Linked DNA regions of Homo sapiens: all the other regions are linked to region 2. The links are contacts of gene promoters, found by promoter capture Hi-C in human tissues and cell types (Jung and others, 2019). All regions are on one chromosome and are shown on one strand. The core of a region is centred on a gene start or on the middle of the fragment in contact, and the rest is flanking DNA. Distances in the headings are between cores, read along the strand shown.

Region 1 (2,883 bases), core at 50-2,549, 260 kb before region 2:
GAGGGAAGTCTCTGCTCCAGGGGCCCCAAAGCCCCGTCCTGTCCACGTGACCACTCCCGCCATCCGTAACACTCTTCCCCACCTCCCGGGGGAGCGGGAGCTGACCTCGCAAGATCCAGGAACGAATCGAGCACCTCCTTGCTGGGGGCATTTTCGGCACTGCCCGCGGCTCCCACGGAGGCGTTGATGGCGGCGGAGGCGGCGCCCGGCTGCAGAGCCAGCGCCAAGCCCACTCCGAGCGCCGACGCCAGCAGCGTGGTGACCAGGAAAAAGAGCAGCGCCCAGGCGCCCAGACGGCCGAGCGCGCCGGGGTCCAGGCTGGCGGCGCCGCCGATCAAGCTGCACACCACCAGCGGCAAGATGATCATCCGCAGCAGACGCAGCAGCAGCTCGCCCGGGAAGACGAAGGCGCTCAAGCGCTCCGGGCCCAACGCCAGCGCACCCCCGGCCCCCGACACCCCCAGTCCCAGCGCCACGCCGGCCACCACGGCCACCACTGTCAGCAGCACAAGCAGGTTGGCTCGAAGGCAGCGGCGCACCTGGTCCCGGGAACCGCAGTAGCCGCCTGCTGCCGCGCCTTGGTCCTCGATGGAGGCCAGCGCCAGGCCCCCGTTGGCGGTGGGCTCCGCCGCTGCGAGCCCCTTGGAGTCTCGAGGAGGATCGGCCACCATGATGGGAAGCACCGGGGTTTCTTAGCGCCTGGAAGCTGGCTGGGAGCGCTTGGGCTCCTTCCCAGGACCCGACGTTCCTAGGACTGAGTTGAGTAACAGCACCTGGAGACTGGAACTTTGGAGGGCTCCTTAGAGTTGTGAGTTCACAGCACTGAAGTTCCTTGGCTCTTGGAAGCTGGAGTGTTTAAATTCCCCAGGCTGGGCGCTGAGGCTTCTCTGCTCTGCCCCGTGTGCCAGATGTCCGAAAGCTGGGAGTTCGGAGCGCCCGGGTTCCTTGGCCCTAGGAGCTGGGAATACGAGAGTTTCTCTGGGTGGGACGTGGGGCCCTTGGCTCCAGGAGGTTGAGTGCCCCCAGATGGCGGAGGTCTGCAGGAGGCTAGGTTCTGGTGGCGCAGATCCCGGACGCCTGGATCCGGGAGGCGGGGACCCGGGCTGCCTGGGTCTTGGACACTGAGGGCTGGGATGCCAGAATCTGGGGGCCGGGAAGCGGACCTCCGGAAACAGGGGACCCAGGCTCTTAGGTCCGGGAGGGTGGGATGCGGGCCCCTGTGTACGGAAGGCGGTGGTCTGGTGTCCGGGAGTAGCGGTTACCAGCCAGAGAAAGCCTCCCGGGCGTGCCGCGTGGCTCTGAGCCCGTTTAGCGGAAGCTGCCAGGGATAAGGGTAGGGGGCGGGGCTTGAGAAGGCGGGGACCGACCCTCGGGCGCCGATTGGCTGCAGAGCGTTCGGAGACTGGACGAGTAGGGGCGGGGCTGATACCCGAGATGGGCCAGGTCCCCCATAGAAGGCAGATTAATAATACCCATCTCCAGGAGCCGGGCCCAGAGACGACGGGGCGGGGCCAGGAAGGGGCGGGGCCTTGGGAGGGTGCTGTTTCCCGCCAAAGGAACTGGGTTGTGGGTTGGAGCCCTTAAACCACAGGGGTTCGTTCCCTGGTGCGAGGGTCGCTAGAAAGCTCCGGTGGTCCTCGGTGATTCATTTGCAACTCAACTCAGCTTTGGAACTCCTCAGCCCTGAGTTTGGTCTTTAGTCGCCTCTGAGAACTTTAATTCCTCGAATATAAAGTGCAGGTGTTAAAAGCTTTTGTCTCATATGATTGCTGTAAGATTTAAATAAAATTGATGTATTTATTTAGGGAGCCGTGGCTCAAGCCTGTAATCCCACCACTTTGGGAGGTGAAGCGGGCGGATCACTTGAGGTCAGGAGGTCGAGACCAGCCTGGCCAACATGGTGAAACCCGTCTCTACTAAAAATACAAAAATTACCTGGTGTGGTGGCACGTGCCTGTAATCCCAGCTACTGGAAGCCTGAGGCAGGAGAATCGCTTGAACCCCAGAGGCAGAGGAAGTCATTCACCTTGAGGCCACACCTAGAGAGGATGACACGTGCATGCCCACCTCCCAAGCCCCTAACCGCACCCACTCTGCTGCCTCCCCAAATTCTCTGTTAGTGGCCGTTTGGGAGGTTAACAATGAATTATGATTCCTTACTCCACCTGACAGTGTTGAAATCCTCATTCCTTTCCCATCTCTAGCCTGTTCTGTGACATTTCAGGCTTTCATGCTTGCTCAAAGATTGTAGTGGTAATGTCAGAAGCTTCCTCCTACAGCAGCTGTGAGGCCTCAGGTAATTTACAACCTCTATGAGGCTCAGTCTTCATATGTGTAAATGGGAATAATAATAAGTCATACCGCCTTGAGTGTTGCAAGGGTTCAAATGAGATAATACGGCCGGGCGCAGTGGCTCACGCCTGTTATCCCACCACTTTGGGAGTTGATGCGGGCAGATCACTTGAGGTCAGGAGTTCCAGACGAGCCTGGCCAACATGGCAAAACCCTGTCTCTGCTGAAAATGCAAAAATTAGCTGGGTGTGGTGGCACATGCCTGTAATCCCAGCTACTCAGGAGGCTGAGGCAGAAGAATTGCTTGAATCCAGGAGGCAGAGGTTGCGAAGAGCCGAGATCTCACCACTGCACTCCAGCCTGGGTGACAGAGTGAGACTCCACCTCAAAAAAAAAAAAGTTATTTATTTGTGCTTTAAAATTTTTTGTTCTTTCTCTCTTCTTTTGTTTCTAACAAAAATGCCCTTCAGAAGAAAGTCAAATACTACTGCTGCGATTGCTGTTATTGTTATTATTACTGAAGAACAAGCTGGATTCAGTGGCATGCACCTGTAGTCCCAGGTATTTGGGAGGCTAAAGCAGGAGGATCCC
Region 2 (3,133 bases), core at 454-2,953:
GGATTCAAGGGCCGGGTGTGGTGGCTCACCCCTGTAATCCCAGCACTTTGGGAGGCCAAGGCAGGCGGATCATGAGGTCAGGAGTTTGAGACCAGCCTGGCCAACATAGTCAAACCCTGTCTCTACTAAAAATGTTAAAATTAGCAGGGTGTGGTAGCACGTGCTTGTAGTCCCAGCTACTCAGGAAGCTGAGGGAGGAGAATCACTTGAATCCAGGAGGTAGAGGTTGCAGCGAGCCAAGATCATGCCACTGCACTCCAGCCTGGGCGACAGAGTGAGACTCCGTCTCAAAAAAAATAAAGGATTCAAGATAGTCCCTGCAGAATGTGGAGGACAATCTAGGGGCAAAGTTGCAGAACCTCCATCTGAGGAGTCATCTTGGCCAAACCCCTCCCTCTACGTGTACCCCCACGGCCTGCCCACTCACTTCTTTCTCAGAACTCTGGGACAAACTGTTTCCTAATCCAGGCCGCTCTTCAGCCTCGCCCTTCTTTTCCTTCAAATGCCGCCATCTCCTACCGAGTATGGCCTGGGCCAATCCCATCCATGTCCTACCGAGTATGGCCTGGGCCAATCCCACCCACGTCCGTCCCCATTCACGTCCTTTACAAACAGCCCACCACACCCTATATCTAGATGCCCGGTCCTGGCCTAGTGAGGTGACTCACACCTATAATCCCAGCACTTTGGGAAGCCAAGGCAGGAGGATTCTCTGAGCCCAAGAGTTCAGACCAGCCTGGGCAACAAAGCAAGACCCCGTCTCTACATAAATTAAAATAGTTGGGTGCGGTGGTGTATGCCTGTAGCTCCAGCTAAGCAGGAGGCTGAGGCAAGAGGATAGCTTGAGCCCAGGAGTTCAAGGCTGCAGTGGGCTACGATTGCGCCACTGCGGTCCAGCCTCGGTGACAGAGCAAGACACCGTCATTAAAAAAATAAAATTAAAAAAAAAACAAACATGGCCAGTCCGCTCCATTCTGGACCTCGCCTCCGTCACAAGCCCCGCCCTCTGCAGCCTAGATCACCTCCCCCTCCAATCAGCAGAGAGCTTTCTCCCGATTGGTTGTCCCCTTCTCCAATCCTGAACTTCCCCCTCTTCTGCGGGGATCCACACTCCCGCTCTCTGCACAGTGGTGGCCTCTGCAATCGGGATGGACCCATCTTGTACCCAACTCCACAGACCCTAAGCTCTCCCTGAAGCCCCTCTCCCCACGGCAGGCGCGATTCTACGAGGCTGCCTCGCGCAACCCTACCACCCCCTCCAATCCCTACGGCGCCCCGTTACCCGGGGTCCTCGTCCTCCCCGCAAGCCCATCCCCTCTGCGGGCACCTGCGCTCTTGCAGTCTGCGCTTCCGTGCGCTCACACTGAAGCCCTTCTCGGAGCCGAGCCCGGGCCCCGTTTCCTGCAGAAGCCCCCGCCCCATCAAGGTCCCACGCGAGCCCGGGACCCCCGTCCCATCCGCACCGCCCCCACCCCTAGCCACCGACCTGTCTCGTGCGCTTTTCGGAGGAGCCAGGCGTCCGCACGATCCAGCTCGGACACTGGGGGCGGCGAAGCCCCGGCGCGGGGACCGTGGCCGGGGGCGAAGGACCCCCGGGCGCCCCCGCTCCGGGGCCGCTGAGGCGGCAGTAGCGACCTCCGGAAGCGAAGACGGGCAAGGCGAGCGGCCCGAGCCCACCACCAGCCGCCTCCCATGATTCGCACTACGGCCGCCGCGCGCCGTACCGCCCCACCGGCCTCCGGTAGGTTGCAACCCATGTCACTCAGGATGAATGGCTTACCCATTGGCTATGCGCTCGCCACTCAGGTCCGGCGTGAACTGTCCATTGGTCGGAATGGCAGTGATTCCCTCCTCTGTCATCTAGGCCGGTAGTGCCCGTCCCTCCTTGATTTTGTACCGGACTACGAATCCCAGCGATCATTGCGCTCGGGGAAAGCCGATATTCAGAAGTCGCAGGCGAGATGTCTGCTGGGAATTGTAGTTTTAATTCTATCTTTTTTAACGGAGTACATGCCGAGCACCTATTGTAGTTGTTTCTTGGTTGTTTCTCTTTCTTTCTTTCTCTTTCTTTCTTTCTTTCTTTTTCTTTCTTTCTCTTTCTTTCTTTCCTTCTTTCTTTCTTTCTCTCTTTCTTTTTCCCTCCCTCCCTCCCTTCCCTCCCCTCCTTCCTTCCTTCCCTCCTTCCTTTTTTTTCCCCGCCCCGAGACCGAGTCTTGCTCTGTCGCCCAGGCTGGAGTGCAGTGGTGCGATCTCGGCTCACTGCAACCTCCACCTCCCGGGTTCAAGCGATTCTCCTGCGTCAGCCTCCTGAGTAGCTGGGATTATAGGCATGCGCCACCACGCCCAGCTAATTTTTGTATCTTTAGTAGAGACAGGGTTTCACCATGTTGGCCAGGCTGGTCTCGAACTCCTGACCTCAAGTGATCCAACCGCCTCGGCCTCCAAAAGTGCTGGGATTACAGGCGTGAGCCACCGTGCCCGGCCAGGTCTGTCTCTTTAAGACAGATTTGTTTTCTTTGCCCTAACCCATTCCGGGATTCAGCTTTGCCTTCTCTCATCAGCATAAACCTTTTCACTAGCCAGGAATGTGAAAAATGTGTCTGGAATATTTTCAATTTGCACTTAATCCCATTTAAAGCTTCACATTCATTGCAAGCCTGCAGGCTATGCAGTGCAGTCCATTTGAACTCCCTCCTCAAGTGTAACCCCCTTGCTAGCTCCCCTACTTTTCCTCTTCATAAAATCCAAGCCCGGGCCAGGCACGGTGGCTCACATCTGTAATCCCACCACTTTGGGAGTCTGAGGCGGGCAGATCACGAGATCAGGAGTTCGAGACCAGCCTGACCAACATGGTGAAACCCCATCTCTACTAAAAATACAAAAATTAGGCATGGTGGCAGGCACCTGTAATCCCAGCTACTTGTGAGGCTGAGGCAGGAGAATCGTTTCATGCGCGTCCATGTGAAGAGACCACCAAACAGGCTTTGTGTGAGCAAGATGGCTGTTTATTTCACCTGGCTGCAGGCAGGCTGAGTCCGAAAAGAGAGTCAGCAAAGGGTGGTGGATTATCATTAGTTCTTAGAGGTTTTGGGATAGGCGGTGAAGTTAAGAGCAATGTTTTGCGGGCAGGGGT
Region 3 (3,146 bases), core at 521-3,020, 420 kb before region 2:
TGGGATTACAGGCGTGAGCCACCATGCCCACGATGTCTCACCTCTTTTGAGCCTCAGTCTCCCCATCTGTGACATGGGCACAACCCACAGAGCTGCCCTCCTCCTCTCCCCACTCCTCCCAGCTCCGGAGGGGACTCACCGTGAGAGGCAGGGAGCACACGGCCATGACCACTGTCATGAGGGCCAGCAGGATCAGGTGGTCCACCTCGTCCTCTCCGGTGCGCGGCCGTGGACCCAGAGAGCCCTGGTGGCGCTTCTGCTGGCGGTACATGCGGCAGAGGCTGAGGGTGACCGAGCCGTTGCAGAGGAAGATGGCAGCCACCAGCAGGGCCACCAGGCCGGCGTAGGCCAGCGAGAAGGCGGCGCCGCCCGGCTGGGCCCAGCGCATGCGGAGGAAGCACCAGCTGCCGGGGCAGTACTGCTGGTGTTGGCCCAGGCCCAGCAGGGGCAGCGCGCAGAAGAGGACGCAGAAGGCGTAGATGGCTGGCAGCGCCAGGCGGGCGCAGCGGGGCCCGTCCAGCTGCGCGTAGAGGTAGGGGTGGCTCAGCGCCAGGCAGCGCTCCACGGCCATGGCAAAGAGGATGAGCATGGACGCCAGGCCGAAGAAGGTCATGGCGAAGGCGAAGGCATCGCACAGGGCGGGGCCGCCTCGGGCCAGGCCCAGCAGGGAGCTGTTGCGCGCATAGGCCACGAACACGGCCGGGCTCAGGAAGCTGGTGCCCAGCAGGTCGGTGGCCGCCAGTCCGGTCACCAGCACCGCGAAGGCCGAGGGGCGCGCCGGTCGCCGTGCGCTCAGGATGCCCAGGGCCAGCCCGTTGCCCACCACACCGGCCACGAACATCAGGGTGCTGGTGGCCGGCCCCACCGAGCCCCGCACGTAGGTGAGGTTCCTGCACGAATCCGCCATCCCAGGTCTGGGCTGGAGGGTTCCCAAGGTGGGGGGTCAGAGGGAGCCAGGGCTACCCCCACCACCCAGCCCACTCAGATGTCCCTGCTGGCCAGTCCTTTTGGCAGCTGGGGCCTCCCAGCCAACCCCCAGTTCTCCTGTGTGTGCGGGTATGCAGTCCTCTCCCCTCTGGCTTCTCCAGTATCTCTCTCTGTCTCTCCCCACCTTCCTGTTTCTCTTTCTCTCTTTCTTTTCTTTCGTTTCTTTTGAGACAGAGTCTCACTCTGTTGTCCAGGATGGAGAGCAATGGCATGATCTCGGCTCACTGCAACCTCCACCTCCTGGGTTCAAGCGATTCTCCTGCCCCAGCCTCTGGAGTAGATGAGATTACAGGCGTCCACTACCACGCCCAGCTAATTTTTGTATTTTCAGTAGAGACGGGGTTCCACCATGTTGGTCAGGCTGGTCTCGAACTCCTGACCTCAGGTGATCCATCCACCTTGGCTTCCCAAAGTGCTGAGATTACAGGTGTGAGCCACCATGCCTGACACCCACCACCCCCCCACCACCTCCTGTTTCTTTCCTTCTCTAGCTCTGTTTCTGCCATTAAAGAGACAGAGAACATCCGGGCATTGCCAGTTCTTTCCCTCCCTGTCTCTCGGTCTCTTGCTGATATCTCCCTGTCTCTGTCCCCTCCCTTGTCCTTGTCCTCCCCGTACCTTTCTCCCTCTAACCCCACACCCTCTACCTGCTCCTGCTCTGTGTTGCTGCATCCCCAGCCCCTCACCGCACCTCTCCAGTCTTGCCCAGGCTCTCCTGTCCCGTGCGTCTGTGCCTTCACTTGCTTTGCTCCTCGTGTCTCTCGCTGCCTGTGTCGGTCTGTGTGTCAGCTTCTCCTTCCCTCCTCCCTCCGTCCCTCCCTCCTTCCCACCCTCCTCAGCTTGCCTGCTCACCCCAGCTTTTTCATTTCCTCTCTCTGCCCCGCCCTCCCTCACTGTTCTCCAGAGGGCCCCCTGGCACACTCCCCACTCCCCGTCCACCCGCCCAATCCAGGACATCCATCTCCCATCGCTGCCTCCACTCTCCTCCCCACATCCTCTCTTGGTTCCCATCACTGAGCCACCTGCCACCTCCCCACACACAGGTCTCCTCCCTCCCCCAGTGTCTCCCTCTCTGGCCTGGGTGGGGAATTCCTGAGTCACCATCACTTAGGCTTGGAGCCTCCCGGGGTAGTAGGGGGCCTCTAGGAGGGACCTGAAGAGCACAGTTGACCAGGCTTCAGTGGGGTGGTCTTGGCCTGGGCTGTCTCAGGGTGGCCTCTGGGATCTATTCTGGGCTCCAGGCCCCGGGGCTGAGGACATTGCCCAGGGATTGAGAAATGACCAGGAAATTCCTCTCTGATGTAGTGTTTTCCAGACACCACTGAGAGTTCTGGTCCCTGGACACAATTCACTCCTTCCAGAAAGCTGAGGAAGGAGGCTTGGCCAGAGAGAGACATGCCAGTCCCTCGAGCCTGTCCCTGGGCACCCAGCTCACCCTGCAGAGACCCGAGAAGAAAGCATGAAGGGGTGTATTTGGTGTCCAGTTGTCAGGGACAGGCTTGGGAGACTTCCATGGCCCATGATGGAAAGGTAGCACTGGGCCACCGTCCGACTTCTCGCACAGCACCCCTAGGCCCCAGGCCAAGCTCTGGTGACCTTGACCTTCAGGAATCATATTTTGATCACAGGAAGCTGTCCACAGCTCCAACATTGCTGCCATGTGTCCCCCACCCTCCCCAAACACAGCCAAGCCACCACCGCTGCAGCCTCGGGCCAGTGTGACAGACCCACATGTTCCCGCTACCCGCACAGCGTTCACGGGTCTCCCTTCCCACGGAGTCGGTGGCTTCCCAGGCAGCCTCCCAGCCCAAAAGGGCCAGATAAAACCTCAGAGACCCTCTCTGAGCCCCGCTGTTTCTCAGGGGGACGGTCTCAGATCCATTCGACTTGGCTTCCTGTTTCCATCTGACCACCTTTTTTCTTGCTGCGAGATGGTCCCAGGTGAGGAGAGGGAGCTGGTAGACTTCAGCCTCCTTCTCTGTGCGTGGGGTAACACGGGCCTCAGGGACCTGGTGGCCAGCCTCGGCCTGCAGCACATCCCAGATTGGTCTTTGTAACAAGGAGAGAGGCTGTGCGGGTGTCTCTTGTCCAAGGCCAGGAGGGATGTGTCCAACCCAAGGACTGGACTGTGGGCAGCTGCCGTCTTGCCCTCTGTACCC

What was found. The method cuts DNA at HindIII sites, captures the fragments that hold promoters and counts their contacts. A contact is called where the count stands out against the background at its distance.
Region 1: the fragment with the promoter of SLC1A5 here is called in contact with the fragment with the promoter of TMEM160 in region 2 in 1 of the 25 tissues and cell types used here (pancreas).
Region 3: a contact is called between the fragment with the promoter of PTGIR here and the fragment with the promoter of TMEM160 in region 2, in 1 of the 25 tissues and cell types used here (small bowel).

What each region holds. Positions count from the first base shown.
Region 1 is chr19:46,787,295-46,790,177 of GRCh38, forward strand. SLC1A5 (solute carrier family 1 member 5) reads right to left here and starts at 1,300. Exons shown (of 8, transcript NM_005628.3): 1 at 106-1,300. The coding sequence starts at 671. RefSeq lists silencers at 378-427, 438-487, 1,458-1,617 and enhancers at 968-1,569, 1,218-1,512. The HindIII fragment of the contact is 6,368 bases long and covers 1-2,008 here.
Region 2 is chr19:47,046,921-47,050,053 of GRCh38, forward strand. TMEM160 (transmembrane protein 160) reads right to left here and starts at 1,704. Exons shown (of 3, transcript NM_017854.2): 1 at 1,487-1,704. The coding sequence starts at 1,694. RefSeq lists enhancers at 1,132-1,201, 1,711-2,005, 2,129-2,646, 2,647-3,133 and a silencer at 1,482-1,671. The HindIII fragment of the contact is 17,900 bases long and covers 1-3,133 here.
Region 3 is chr19:46,623,319-46,626,464 of GRCh38, forward strand. PTGIR (prostaglandin I2 receptor) reads right to left here and starts at 1,771. Exons shown (of 3, transcript NM_000960.4): 1 at 1,679-1,771; 2 at 140-919. The coding sequence starts at 907. RefSeq lists an enhancer at 1,986-2,486. The HindIII fragment of the contact is 28,599 bases long and covers 1-3,146 here.